Regions from separate parts of the Homo sapiens genome. Here all the other regions are linked to region 3. Evidence: promoter capture Hi-C in 16 types of primary human blood cells and fetal thymus (Javierre and others, 2016). All regions are on one chromosome and are shown on one strand. Each heading gives the region's core, a stretch centred on a gene start or on the middle of the fragment in contact. The rest is flanking DNA. Distances are from core to core; before and after follow the strand shown.

The links. Contacts are between HindIII fragments. The CHiCAGO score rates a contact against its expected background, and 5 or more counts as called.
Region 1: a contact is called between a fragment that was not itself captured here and the fragment with the promoter of SLAMF7 in region 3, in 1 of 17 cell types (non-activated CD4 T cells). The highest score is 5.9, in non-activated CD4 T cells.
Region 2: a contact is called between a fragment that was not itself captured here and the fragment with the promoter of SLAMF7 in region 3, in 3 of 17 cell types (total B cells, fetal thymus and activated CD4 T cells). The highest score is 7.0, in total B cells.

The regions. Positions count from the first base shown.
Region 1 is chr1:160,480,688-160,485,596 of GRCh38, reverse strand. SLAMF6 (SLAM family member 6) reads left to right here. Exons shown (of 8, transcript NM_001184714.2): 8 at 1-561. Among named protein-coding and RNA genes, the nearest start is that of SLAMF6, 40 kb to the left of the region's middle. The HindIII fragment of the contact is 480 bases long and covers 2,756-3,235 here.
Region 2 is chr1:161,007,028-161,011,690 of GRCh38, reverse strand. All of the region lies in intron 1 of F11R (F11 receptor), which reads left to right. Among named protein-coding and RNA genes, the nearest start is that of F11R, 12 kb to the left of the region's middle. RefSeq lists an enhancer at 4,172-4,663. The HindIII fragment of the contact is 3,097 bases long and covers 1-2,859 here.
Region 3 is chr1:160,736,149-160,740,496 of GRCh38, reverse strand. It overlaps SLAMF7 (SLAM family member 7), which reads right to left and starts at 1,250. Exons shown (of 7, transcript NM_021181.5): 1 at 1,141-1,250. The coding sequence starts at 1,195. LOC124904440 (a long non-coding RNA gene) reads left to right here and starts at 1,338. Exons shown (of 2, transcript XR_007066687.1): 1 at 1,338-1,414. The HindIII fragment of the contact is 11,353 bases long and covers 1-4,348 here.

The DNA.
Region 1 (4,909 bases), core at 1,746-4,245, 260 kb after region 3:
CCCTGGATGGTCTGGCCCACCTCCAGCCTCAGCTAGCATTACCCTTCTGACACTCTCTATGTAGCCTCCCTGATCTTCTTTCAGCTCCTCTATTAAAGGAAAAGTTCTTTATGTTAATTATTTACATCTTCCTGCAGGCCCTTCCTCTGCCTGCTGGGGTCCTCCTATTCTTTAGGTTTAATTTTAAATATGTCACCTCCTAAGAGAAACCTTCCCAGACCACTCTTTCTAAAATGAATCTTCTAGGCTGGGCATGGTGGCTCACACCTGTAATCCCTGTACTTTGGGAGGCCAAGGGGGGAGATCACTTGAGGTCAGGAGTTCAAGACCAGCCTGGCCAACTTGGTGAAACCCCGTCTTTACTAAAAATACAAAAAAATTAGCCAGGCGTGGTGGTGCACCCCTAAAATCCCAGCTACTTGAGAGACTGAGGCAGGAGAATCGCTTGAACCCAGGAGGTGGAGGTTCCAGTGAGCCAAAATCATGCCAATGTATTCCAGTCTGGGTGACAGAGTGAGACTCTGTCTCAAAAAATAAATAAATAAAATAAAATGAAATAGATCTTATTATTCTGTTACACCTTCTATGTCATTTATCATATCATTAAATATTTATTTTTACTTTTTTAACATCTATTTCTCCCACTATACCCTAAGCTCTTCAGAAACAGAGACAATAACTGTTTTGTTTATCACCGTAACCCTAGCACCTAACACAGTATCTAGCATATAGCAAGTGTTCAAAAAAATTTTTTAATAAATAAATGAATATGTAATGGGGTTTTGTGAAAATGAAATAAGACAATACACCTGGAGTCCTTAGCATAGCTCTCAGCCACATAAAGGAGCTCAATAAATGTCAGTCAGCATTGTTGGTATAATTACTGATACAATTAGTATAAATTAATAATAGTAAAAATTAATTATTACTGAATTACACAGAATCATCTCACAAACCTTCAGCACAACAAGACGTGACAGAGATCAGCTCTCAAGACCACAGGATTCAAAGGGAAGGGGTTGGAGAGTTGGAATGGGGAAAAACTGAAATAATGGCTGAAAAGAATAGAAAAAAACAAAGCTCATCAAAGTTAATTAATCTCAAATACCAGCCATCAATTACAGTATTAGTCAGTGGAGTAGGACAAGATAGGGAAGCTTAATCAAGAAGAAGGAAGAGTTTCCAAGGAATAGGTTCTGGGTTCATGGAGACTTCAAAGAAAAGAGTAAAAAGAGGGTTACTGCCATGTTCGTGCAACATGACCTGAAGCTCAGGAAATCTCACTGGGCAGGTAAGAGAGTGCTTTCCTTTCAAGGGGACCCAAAAAAAAAAAAAAAAAAAAAAAAAAAAAAATATATATATATATATATATATATATATATATAAAGCTTTTTTTGTGTGTGTGGAAACTTTGAAGAATTCCAAGGTTCTTCAGAGAGGGAAAAGGAATAATCTGTAAAGTCAGTGCAGATAGAAAAATATTTGCAACATCTAGGGTGCCCAAAACCAGCAAGAAAATTAGGGGATATGTCATGGAAGGCACAACTAATCCATCTAGTCAGAAATCTACCAGAATCTACCCTGAATCTGGACTGCACTGGGGAGGATCACAAACAAAACAAAAACTAAGGGCGTATCTATAGACATCTAAGAGGTGAGTAAGAAAAGAACTCATAAGAAAGCTAAGCTCACTTGTCTTTATAGACCAGCTACTAAAACATAGAATTCCTGATGTTATATTTCTTTCAATCTCTTCAACCTTCTCCCTTTTTATCATAAATACCACACTCTCTTCTCTTGGCTTCTGTGACACTACATTCCCCGAGTTTTACTCCTTCCTTCCTAGCTGCTTCTCAGGCTCTTTGCAGATCCACTGCCTCCTCCACAGGACCAGTAAAGACTGAAGCTAAGGCTCACATGTGGGTCCCATTCACTTCTCCATCTAAGTACTCTTCTTATCTGATGTCAGCCATTCCTATTGCCTTAATAGCCTTTATAAGCTAATGGTTCCCAAACACATCTTTAGTCCTGACCTCCTGGCTTACCTCATTAACTGCCTACTTGGCATCACCATTTGCATATCTGGTAGATATATCAAAGTTTTTTAAAAAATAAAAACTCTTGGGCAGATGTGGTGGCTCATGCCTGTAATCCCAGCACTTTGGGAGGCCGAGGCAGGTGGCTCACTTGAAGTCAGGAGTTCGAGACCAGTCTGGCCAACATGGTGAAACCCGGTCTCTACTAAAAATACAAAAATTAGCCGGGTGTGATGTTGGGTGCCTGTAATCCCAGGTACTCAGGAGGCTGAGGCAGGAGAATCACTTGAAACCAGGAGGCGGAGGTTGCAGTGAGCCAAGATCATGCCACTGCACTCCAGCCTGGGCAACAGAGTGAGACTCTGTCAAAAAAAAAAAATCAAACCTCTTGATTTCTCTTATCAAGCCTTTTCTTCTACTATGCTTTTTCATATCAGTAAATGGTATCATTGTTATGGGACACTCTTGAACAGATCTCCTTTACAAAACTGAAAACTACCCAGTACTCACCATATAACTAATCATTTTTGTTTTCTTGTGGGAAACAAATGGATTTAATCAACAAAAACCTAATCTATTGTTCTAAAGTTAAATACATTAAGACCCAGATGCCCCATTCCTAAAAGATGAATCATGCATTTTGCAAGCAGGGAAGAAAACATGCAATGCTTATAAAATTCCTACCAAAAAACAAACTTTCTTTGCCCAGGAGGTAAGCTTGTTCTTTAATATTTTTATTGTAGAATTAAGGAAATGGTAGCCCCATTAAACTACTTTGAATAAGGTAAGATGGCTGTGATTGGCTATCCTGGAAAGGTAATAAAAGGGAATAGAAATACTCTTCCCACTCTGCCAGCCCCCAGTCATTCCCACTAGGAGGTCACAAAGTGTTGACAAGGCCTACAAGACCCCTACTCACATCTCTACTCCTTCTTTCACAGCATTCCAGCCACACTGTTCTTTATTCAGCTCCTAGAATAATCTAGACTCTCCTTCCTACTTCTGTGCCTTATGGATACTGGGACCACATCCCTATGAGGCAACAATTAGCTGGTGCTGAGTAGCCTCTGTTCTATTCTAAATGGGGCTTGCACTTCACATTTCACTCCTGGCCTGCCCTGCCTGCTTCACTCACTTAAGATACCTACCTAGTACTGAAAATAGTTAAGTTTCCAACCTCTTACCTACACCATGAAGCTTTGCCCCACATCATGTTGGTCAAAAGAGCACATTAACTAGTCCCAAAATAACAATGTCTGATCTCACTTGTCCACACCCCATCCCACCCTCAAGCCAACACCTGAACCCCGTGTAGCTTTAGGACACTTACTTGAAGCTTTCATCATTTAGCCTCCCTCAGGGTTCAGTGTATACTTTGATATGAGGAAGCAGGGCCACAGCTAGATGCAGAACAGAGAGAAGGCTACCCTGTCCAAGGTCACTGGATAGACATTTCACCCTGAGTTTCAAGTTGATGAAAAGAATGGACTAAGAAGTGACTTCTCAAATGGGGAGGGAGCAAGTCTGACCCCCTGAATTTCCCCTTCCCAGAGGCCATCTAAAAGCACTCTCTGTGGGAAGAAAGGAAGGGGACATCATCACTGACCTTTTACTACCAGACGACTAGAATGGCCACATCCAAAGCTTTTGCTTCCTCACCCCTAGCCCACTCTTCTGAAGCTGCATTCTTGAAGGATACCAACCTCTAGAGGCAGGGATCTTTTCTCTGCATTCTGGTGCTCTCTGCAGCATTTGACATTACACAATCCCCCCATCACCCTTGAGGTTTCCCTCCTTTTAATGCCCATTAAGTCACCTCATCCTACTTTTGTCTTTCTGTCTCCTCCTTACCTCTCCTTAGCTTGGTTTCTCTTATTATTTATGTCCCATAATTAGATTTGTTTCCCTAGGTTCTGCTGACTGGATATTTTCCTGGATGTCTCGTAATCACCTTAAATTCTGTTTTTCATTCTCCCTTTGACTTCTAATGACCCAAGGAAAGTAGAACATCCCTCTCAGGATCCAACAACAATCCAAAACACAAGGTGAATTCATGGCAACTTAAAACACAAGGTGAATTCATGGCAATTTAAGACACAGGAGGAAATAGAGGGGCAGCCAAGATGGCCGAATAGGAACAGCTCCAGTCTACAGCTCACAGCGTGAGCAATGCAGAAGACAGGTGATTTCTGCATTTCCAACTGAGGTACCGGGTTCATCTCACTGGGTAGTGCTGGACAGTGGGTGCAGGACAGTGGGTGCAGCGCACCGTGCATGAGCCAAAGCAGGGCGAGGCATGGCCTCACCCAGGAAGTACAAGGGGTCAGGGAATTCCCTTTCCTAGTCAAAGAAAGGGGTGACAGACGGCACCTGGAAAATCGGGTCACTCCCACCCTAATACTGCACTTTTCCAACGGGCTTAACAAACCGCACACCAGGAGATTATATCCCACACATGGTTTGGACGGTCCTACGCCCACAGAGCCTCACTCATTGCTATCACAGCAGTCTGAGATCAAACTGCAAGGTGGCAGTAAGGCTGGGGGAGGTGTGCCCACCATTGCCGAGGCTTGAGTAAGTAAACAAAGCAGCCAGGAAGCTCGAACTGGGTGGAGCCCACCACAGCTCAAAAAGGCCTGCCTGCCTCTGTAGGCTCCACCTCTGGGGGCATGGCACAGACAAACAAAAGGCAGCAGTAACCTCTGCAGACTTAAATGTCCCTGTCTGACAGCTTTGAAGAGAATAGTGGTTCTCCCAGCATGCAGCGTGTGATCTGAAAACAGGCAGACTGCCTCCTCAAGTGGGTCCCTGACCCCTGAGTAGCCTAACTGGGAGGCACTCCCCCAGTAGGGGCAGACTGACACCTCACACGG
Region 2 (4,663 bases), core at 62-2,561, 270 kb before region 3:
TGGCACAATCTCAGCTCACTGCAACCTCCACTTCCTGGGCTCCAGCAATTCTCTGCCTCAGCCTCCCAAGTAGCTGGGATTACAGGTGCCCACCACTACGCCTGGCTAATTTTTTTGTATTTTTAGTAGAGATGGGGTTTCACCATCTTGGCCAGGCTGGTCCTGAACTCCTGACCACCTGTCTCGGCCTCTCAGTGTTGAGATTACAGGTGTGAGCCACCGCGCCTGGCCCAAAATATACTTTAAGGTCCTTTCTACATTATTCCTAAAGTATGGCTATATCATAATTTACTTATTCACCTTTTGTTGGGCATTTAGATTTCTTTTTTTTCTTTGTTATACTAAATAACATTAAATTGGCTGGGCATGGTGGTTCATGCCTGTAATCCCAGCACTTTGGGAGGCTGGGGCGGACGGATCACTTGAGGCCAGGAGTTTGAGACCAGCCTGGCCAATGTGGTGAAACCCCGTGTCTATCAAAAGTACAAAAATTAGCTGGGTATGGTGGTGTGTGCCTGTAATCCCAGCTACTGGAGAGGCTGAGGCAGGAGAATCTCTTGAACCTGGGAGGTGGAAGTTGCCATGAGCCACAATCGCGCCACTGCACTCCAGCCTGGGCGACAGAGCAAGACTCAGTTTCCAAAAAAAACGAACAATGAAACCTAAATAACGTTAAATTGTTCTTGTACATGAATTTTTTTTTTTTTTTTTTTTTTTAAGATGGAGTCCCACTCTATCGCCCAGACTGGAGTGCAGTGGCGTAATCTCAGCTCACTGCAACCTCCACCTCCCAGGTTCAAGCCTCAGCCTACCAAGTAGCTGGGATTCAGGTGCCTGCCACCACGCCCAGCTAATTTTTATATTTTTGGTACAGATGGGGTTTCACCATTTTGGTCAGGTTGGTCTCAAACTCCTGGCCTCAAGTGATCCGTCCGCCTCAGCCTCCCGAAGTGCTGGGATTACAGGCGTGAGCCACTGCACCCAGCCAAAATATTTAAACTTATCTTTGATTGCTTTCTTAGGCTATATTCCTAGAAATTGGGGTGAGATTAATTTTGACTGAGGAAAGGTATAAGAGATCAATAGACATTTGAACAGGATCTTGAAAGATACATGGGATTTCCTTGCTTGTCCAATAAAGCTACATATAGCATAATAGTTTTAGAGCCTCAAAATCAGGCAGAGTTAAGATTCCTACCTTGCTATTTGTAGCCATATGGTTTGGATCAACTGTTTTTTTTTTTTTTTTGATGGAGTCTCGCTCTGTCACCCAGGCTGGAGTGCAGTGGCTTAATCTCAGCTCAATGCAACCTCCCCCTCTCGGCTTCAAGCAATTCTCCTGCCTTAGCCTCCTGAGTCGCTGGGATTACAGGCGCCTGCCACCATGCCCAGCTAATTTTTGTATTTTTAGTAGAGACGGGGTTTCACCACGTTGGCCAGGCTAGTCTCGAACTCCTGACCTTGTGATCCGCTTGCTTCGGACTCTCAAAGTTCTGGGATTACACGTGTGAGCCACTATGCCTGGCCTGGGTCAACTGTTCTAAGCCTCAGTTTTTTCATCTGTAAAATGAAATGGTAACGGTAGTACTTCAATCTTCAATGGTACTTGTCTCATAGGTTTTTTTTTTTTTTAAGAGTTTAGTGAGAAAATGCATATAAGGCCTAACATTAATAATATGCCACTTCTACCATTATGCCATTGTCAATCATAAGACCCTCCCAGATTCATGGGGAGGAAACTTTTTTTTTGAGACAGAGTCTTGCTCTGTCATCCAGACTAAGTACAGTGGCACCATATCAGCTCACTGCAGCCTCCACCTCCTGGGCTCAAGTGGTTCTCCAGCCTCCCAAGTAGCTGGGACTACAGGTATGCACCATGCCTGGCTAATTTTTGTAATTTTTATCATGTTGGCCCGGCTGGTCTTAAACTTCTGACCTCAAGCAATCCACCCACATCGGCCTCCCAAAGTGCTGGGATTATAGGCGTGAGCCACCGCACCCGGCCCATGGGGAGGAAACTTAACTTAGACTCCACCTCAGTCACAATGTAAGTAGAGCATGGGGGAGGAGATAAATATATAGATAGATGTGGCTGTTTTGGAAAATACTATTTGCCACAGTTGTTTCATTATTATTATTCAGGTACGTAGTAATTTCCAGGAATTACATCCTCAGTGTTATAGGCGTTCATGGGCGTGCATGACTGCAGCTGATTAATTTTTTTTTTTTTTTGGTACAGATGGGGGTCTCACTGTGTTGCCCAGGCTGAGAAAACATTTATTGAATGTCAACTTGTACCAGTTTTATTATGCTAAGTGTGGGATACTCAGAATATTAAATAACACATGGTCCCTTTTCACTTGGGGTTTACCATGGGAGACATGCTTGTACACAGATGATGTCATTATAATGTGGGAATTGCTTTGACAGTGTTTTGCATGGGATAATTAAAGCCTAGGAAAGAGGCTTAGGTGAGGCTATGGTGAGGACTGGGCATGTGGGAGGTCGTTTTCCAGAAAATAATGTGGATGAATACTGCTGCCCAGATAAAGAGGGGGAAAAGGGTGTTCTACATAGCAGAAATAGCATGAGCAAAGGCAGAGATTGTGAAACAGCCCAGACTTTGCTAGGAATTTTAAGTAGTTTTGTATTGCTAGAGGGTAAATTGCAACAGTAGAGTGGGTGATGAAGATGATAACCTTATCAAGGGGTCAGATAGTGCTGGAACTTTCTTCCAGCACTTCCTGGTGGGAGAGAGGGAGGTGGGCGTTTGGCAGAGTATAGGGATTATTGGAACTTTCTTAGCTTGCAGAAAAATTTGGATTTTATCATATAAGCAATGTAGAATCATCAAAAGCTTAAAGGAGGTATCAGATTTGCATTTTTAGGAAGGCTGTATAGTATAGTGTAGCATTGTATAGCCTCTGCAGTTGGACTGCATTGGTGTGAATCTGCACTACCACTCACTGTGTGGCCTTAGCCAAGTTACTTAACTACTCTGGGCCTCAGTTTCCCCATGTAAATATGGGTGATAACGATAGAATCACCCAACTCTAAAGGCTGTTGCAGGGATTAAATGATATTACATATAATATGCTTACAACAGTGCCTCAAATATAGTATGTGCTCAATAAATGCTAGCACTTCATCCAGTAGTGGAATGGAGAATGGACTTTCTTTTTTTTTTTTGAGACGGGGTCTCGCTCTGTCACCCAGGCTGAAGTGCAGTGGTGCCATCTCAGCTTACTGCAAGCTCCACCTCCCGGGTTCACGCCATTCTACTGCTTCAGCCTCCGGAGTAGCTGGGACTAGGGACTACAGGTGCCTGCGACCACGCCCGGCTAATTTTTTGTATTTTTAGTAGAGATGGGGTTTCACCGTGTTAGCCAAGATGGTCTTGATCTCCTGATCTCGAGATCCGCCTGCCTCAGCCTCCCAAAGTGCTGGGATTACAGGCGTGAGTCACCGTGCCTGGCTGGAGAATGGACTTTCTATACATGGGCCCAAAACCTAAGCAGGCCAAAATCTATTGATGCCTTTAACTTTGTGGCTTTTCTTGTTGTGAACTTAGAGAAAATTAAACTTGACAATGGAAAGGATGGAATTTCCTTCTATTATTCGTTTACCACGTACATCAGTAGGACATTTGCATGTGTGTGTACAGTATGGTATGTATGGGCCCAAGGTTAAGTGCAAAAGGGGGGCTGTGAAGAGGCACGGGAAAATATGAAATAGATGAGGAGGATGGACAGGGAAACTGTGAGTGTCCTGATGTAGATTGGATTCAGTGAGAGCAAGTTCCTAGCTCTGCTGGTACAGCTGTGAAGGTTCTAGAGAAGGGGCCGCCTTCCCAAGGCAGCTGCAATGACAGGGGAGATATGGTTTGGTAGGCTGGAGTAGGCACTTTTCAGGCTTTATTTATATGTCTTGTTGAAGAAAACATTGAAGTCAGAAAGAAGTATGTGTACAGAAGGGCCTATGAACAGATGATGATAATCATAAAATATAATACTTATTTGGGGTTTCCTGTTCAGACACTGCTCTAAGCACTTTATTTGTACAGTATTAGCTTGTTTAGCCTTCAGAACAGCCCTTTGATGTAGAAACTGTTATTATCCCCATTTTACAGATGCGTAAACTCAGATTTGAGGAGGCCAAGTGGCTTGTCCAGGTCACATAGCCTAGTAAGTAACAGAGCTGGGATTTTTTTTTTTTTTTCTTTTCTGAGACAGAGTTTCTCCCTTGTTGGCCAGGCTGGAGTGCAATGGCACGATCTTGGCTCACTGCAACCTCTGCCTCCCAGGTTCAAGCAATTCTCCTGCCTCAGCCTCCTGAGTAGCTGGGATTACAGGCATGCACCACCACGCCTGGTTAATTTTGTATTTTTAGTAGAGACGAGGTTTCTCCATGTTGGTCAAGCTGGTCTCGAACTCCCCACCTCAGGTGATCTGCCCGCCTTGGCCTCCCAAAGTGCTGGGATTACAGGCATGAGCCACTGCGCCCAGCATTTTTTTTTTTTTTTTGAGACGGAGTTTCTTGTTGCCCAGGCTGGAGTGCAATGGCACGATCTCAGCTCACTGCAACCTCTGCTTCCCAGGTTCAAGCGATTCTCCTGCCTCAGCCTCCCAAGTAGCTGGGATTGCAGGCATGTGCCACCACACCC
Region 3 (4,348 bases), core at 1-2,500:
GGTACACTACACAGGCTGCCTCTGGAGGAGGGCAGAGGGGGACCTGCATGGCAGTTTTTCATACTTGTGCTCTTTCGCTGACTGATTTCAGATGGACACCTGTAGCTTTCAAAGTCTCTATAATTTTCCCCAACCCCTCCACCTTATCTCCCTCAAGTTCTATTTCTGCTCATCATTTCCGTTCAGGGAGTTTTTTTTTTGTTTTTTTTTTTTAAAGTGAGGGCCTATTCCAGAACCACCTGGTTAGACCCAGGTACCTCTCAAAAATACAAACTTCTGATGAATTCAAAGTGGGTAAGAGTCTGCTGATGCTGACCACTTAGCGATGCAGGGGAAAATATTGGGGGCACCAGCTGCCTGCGTGGTCTTGGGCAGATCACTCCAGGCAGGCTCAGATACACATAATGAAGCAGTTATGTGAAGTCCTTATAGGGGGACCTCATGGTAGTACTCCATGAGATTGATGACAGAAGAGATATTTCTCACTTATAGGGCTCCTGATCCTTTCTGAGAGCCCTTAGGATAGAAAAATCTTCAAAGACTAGAATACCAGTGACAGGTGGAGAACTGTCCTCTGTCCTCCATGGGATTAAACATAAAGTGCCTATGGTATGAGTTGGTTCTCTAAGTAGAGACTGATTACATTGCTTGAGTAAGGAAAGAAAATTCAAGTGATTCTTTCCATTTATATTACTGTTATGCATAACCAATTTTATAAATACATTTATAAGTAAATAAATACATACCTGTATAGTATCATCTTGTTCTTAAAGTTGCCCTCAAAAGGAGAGAAGGCTAGAAGATAAAGTTTCTGAGGCCCAGGAAAACTTTAACATTCCTTATCTAACTCATGGCAGAACCTGGATTAGAAAAATGGTCTCTGATACCCAGCACCACTTCTTTCAGCTCCTTCATCCCTGGGACAGTCAACAGGGGAGTCAGTTCCCAGAGCCATTTTTCCCCCTCTCTCTAGTCTCTTCCTGACCTGAGAATCAGAGATCAGAGATTGATAAAAAGCAAATGTTAGATGAGAACACAGAGCCTCCCGAGTTGAGCCAGAGGCCCAGAGTGGAACAAGAAACCTGGAACTATTCAGGATGGGGTAGACAGGAGAGTGGAAGAGAATCCGGCCGGACTCACCTGTGAGCTGCCAAAGGATATAGATGAGGGTGAGGCATGTTGGGGAACCAGCCATATTGCTCTCTGGAAGTCAGCCACTGAAATGAAGCCACTTCCCTCTTAGGTATTACTCAGACCTCTTCCCCAGCTGATATTTAAAGAAGCAGGAGGGGTCACGCCGCAGACATGTGAGATTGAGTAATTGCTAAATTATTTTCAGAGTGAATAGAGCATTTTACCTTGCCACCAGCAATCTATGAGAGATCTATTTGCTCCCCATCTTCATCAGCATTTGGTATATTCCCATTTTATATTTTAGCTGTTTTAATAGGTGCTGTAGTGATACCTCATTGTGGCTTTAATTTGCATTTCCCTAAAGCCTAATAATGTTGAACATCTTTTCATGTGCTTATTTGCCATCTATATATCCATATCCTCCTTGGTGAAATGTCTATTTATGTCTTTTGTCCATTTTATAATCAGATTCTTTATTTTTTTTACTGTTGAGCTTTGACAATTCCTTATATGTTCCAAGTATAAGAGTCATTTGTCAGATATGTGGTTTACAAATATTTTCTCTTGGTCTGTAGCCTGTCTTTTCATCTTCTTAACGGGGTCTTTGGCAGAGCAAAAATTTTAATTTTGATGAAATTCAACTTATCAGTTTTTTTTCTACCCACACTAGGGTCCAAAGGTTTTCTCCTGAAAGTTTTATAGTTTTATGTTTTACATTTAAATGTATGATCCTGTTTTAATGTAAGGTGTGAAGTTTAGGTTGAGATTCACCTAAATATATTGTCTATATTCATTGAGAACCATATCAGGTAATATGGTTGACAGTTTTTTTTTGCTTTCGACACTTGAAAAGTGTCATGACACTCCTCCCCTCCATGGTTTCCAGTGAGAAATCAGCCATCATTTAAATTGTTTTCCCTATAGGTAATGTGTCATTTTTCTCTAGCTGTTTTAAAAGTTTTTTGTTTGCCTTTGGTTTTCAGAAGTATGATTACAATGTGCGTGTTTTTTTTTCTTCTGCCTGTGGGTGTTCAATTGTTCTACTACCATGTGATGGAAAAGATGATCTTTCCTACATTGAATTACTTTTGTATCTTTATCAAAAATCAGCACTTATACTTGTGTGGGTATATTCTGGAGCTATCTATTCTATTTAACTGACTTACATAATGTAATTATTTATATATCAGAGCTTAAGTTTGCCATGTTATTATTTTCTCTTTGTTCTTCTGGGCTTTTGTTTGTTTATTTTGTTCCTCTGTTTCACTTTCCTGGCCATCCTGTGTGTTACTGGAATATTTTTTATAATTCCATTTTGATTTATCTATAATGTATCTTTTTGAAGAGTTTTTTTACTGGTTGCTGTACATATTGCATTTTACATACATAACTTTTGATCTACCTATCAGTGTTGACATTTTACCAGTTGAACTAGGTATAGAAAACTTACCTATATTAGGTTTCTTTATTAGTCTATCTTTATACTTGTCTTAAATATATTGTCTATATTCATTGAGAACCATATCGGTAAGATTATAAGTTTTGCTTCAATTGTTGAACATAATTCAGAACACTCAAGAGGAGAAGGACAATCCATTACATTTACCCATATTTTAACTCTTTTCATTGTTATTTCTTTATTTCTAATGTTTCAAGTTTCCTTCTTTTTATTTTTTTTTGGACGAAGTCTTGCTCTGTCATACAGGCTGGAGTGTAGTGGCATGATCTTGGCTCACTGCAATCTCCGCCTCCTGGGTTCAAGCGATTCTCCTGCCTCAGCCTCCTGAGTAGCTGGGACTACAGGCTCATGCCACCATGCCCACCTACTTTTTGTACTTTTAGTAGAGATCAGGTTTCGCCATGTTGGCCAGGCTAGTCTCAAACTCCTGACCTCAGGTGATCCACCAACTTTGGCCTCCCAAAGTGCTGGGATTACAGGTATGAGCCACCACACCCAGCCTTCAAGTTTTCTTCTTTAATCATTTCTTTCTGTTTCAAGATATTCTTTAGGAATTCTTTTATGATAAGCCTGCTGATAACAAATTATCTTAGTTTTCCTTCACCTGAGAATGTCTTGATTTAACCCTCATTCCTGGGTATAAAATTCTAGGTTGACAGTTTTTTTTCTTTCAACACTTGAAAAGTGTCATGACACTCCTCCCCTCCATGGTTTCCAGTGAGAAATCAGCCGTCATTTAAGTTGTTTTCCCTGTAGGTAATGTGTCATTTTTCTCTAGCTGTTTTAAAAGTTTTTTGTTTGTCTTTAGTTTTCAGAAGTGTGATTATAATGTGTCTTGGTGTGAATTTCTTTGGGTTTCTCTTATTTGTGATTCATTGAGTCTCTTGAATCTGTAGGTTTTTACCTTTTGCTAAGTTTGGGGAAATTTCATTATTTTTTGAATACTTTTTTTTCAGCCTCACATTCTCGCTTCTCTCCTAAAATTCTGATGACATGAATGTTATAAATCTTTTGTTTTTCTCCCACAGGGCTCTGAGGCTCCATTTTTTTTTTTTTTTTTTTTTTTTTTTGGCCTATTTTCACTCTGTTTTCAGATTGGGTATTTTCTATTGTTTATCTTCAAGTACACTGATTCTTTCCTTTTTCATCTCCATTTTGCAATTTTTTATTTTTTTATTTTTTCTGAGACAGAGTCTCACTCTGTTGCCCAGGCTGGAGTGCACGATCTCAGCTCACTGCAACCTCTGTCTCCTGGGCTCAAGCGATTCTCCTGCCTCAGCCTCCTAAGTAGCTGGGATTACTGGCACCCGCCACCACACCTGGCTAATTTTTATATTTTGGTAGCGACAGAGTTTTGCCATGTTGGCCAGGCTGGTCTTGTACTCTTGACCTCAGGTGATCCGCCCACCTTGGCCTCCCCAAGTGCTGGGATTGCCAGTATGAGCCACTGGCCCTGGCCTCCATTTTGCTATTAAGCTCATTAAACTCATTCAATTAGTTTTACCTTTCAGTCATTGTATTATTCAATTCTAAAATTTCCCTTTGGTTCTTCTTTATATCTTCTACTCTTTTTTTAAAGACTTTCTAGTTTTTTTGTTTATTTGTTTTAAATGTGTTCATAGCTGCTAGTTGAAGCATTTTTACTATGGTTTCTTTAAAATCCTTGTAAGATAATTCTAACGTCTGTGTTGTCTTGGTTTTGGTGTCTGTTGATTGCCTTTTGTTCATTCAAGTCAAGATTGTCCTGGTTCTTGT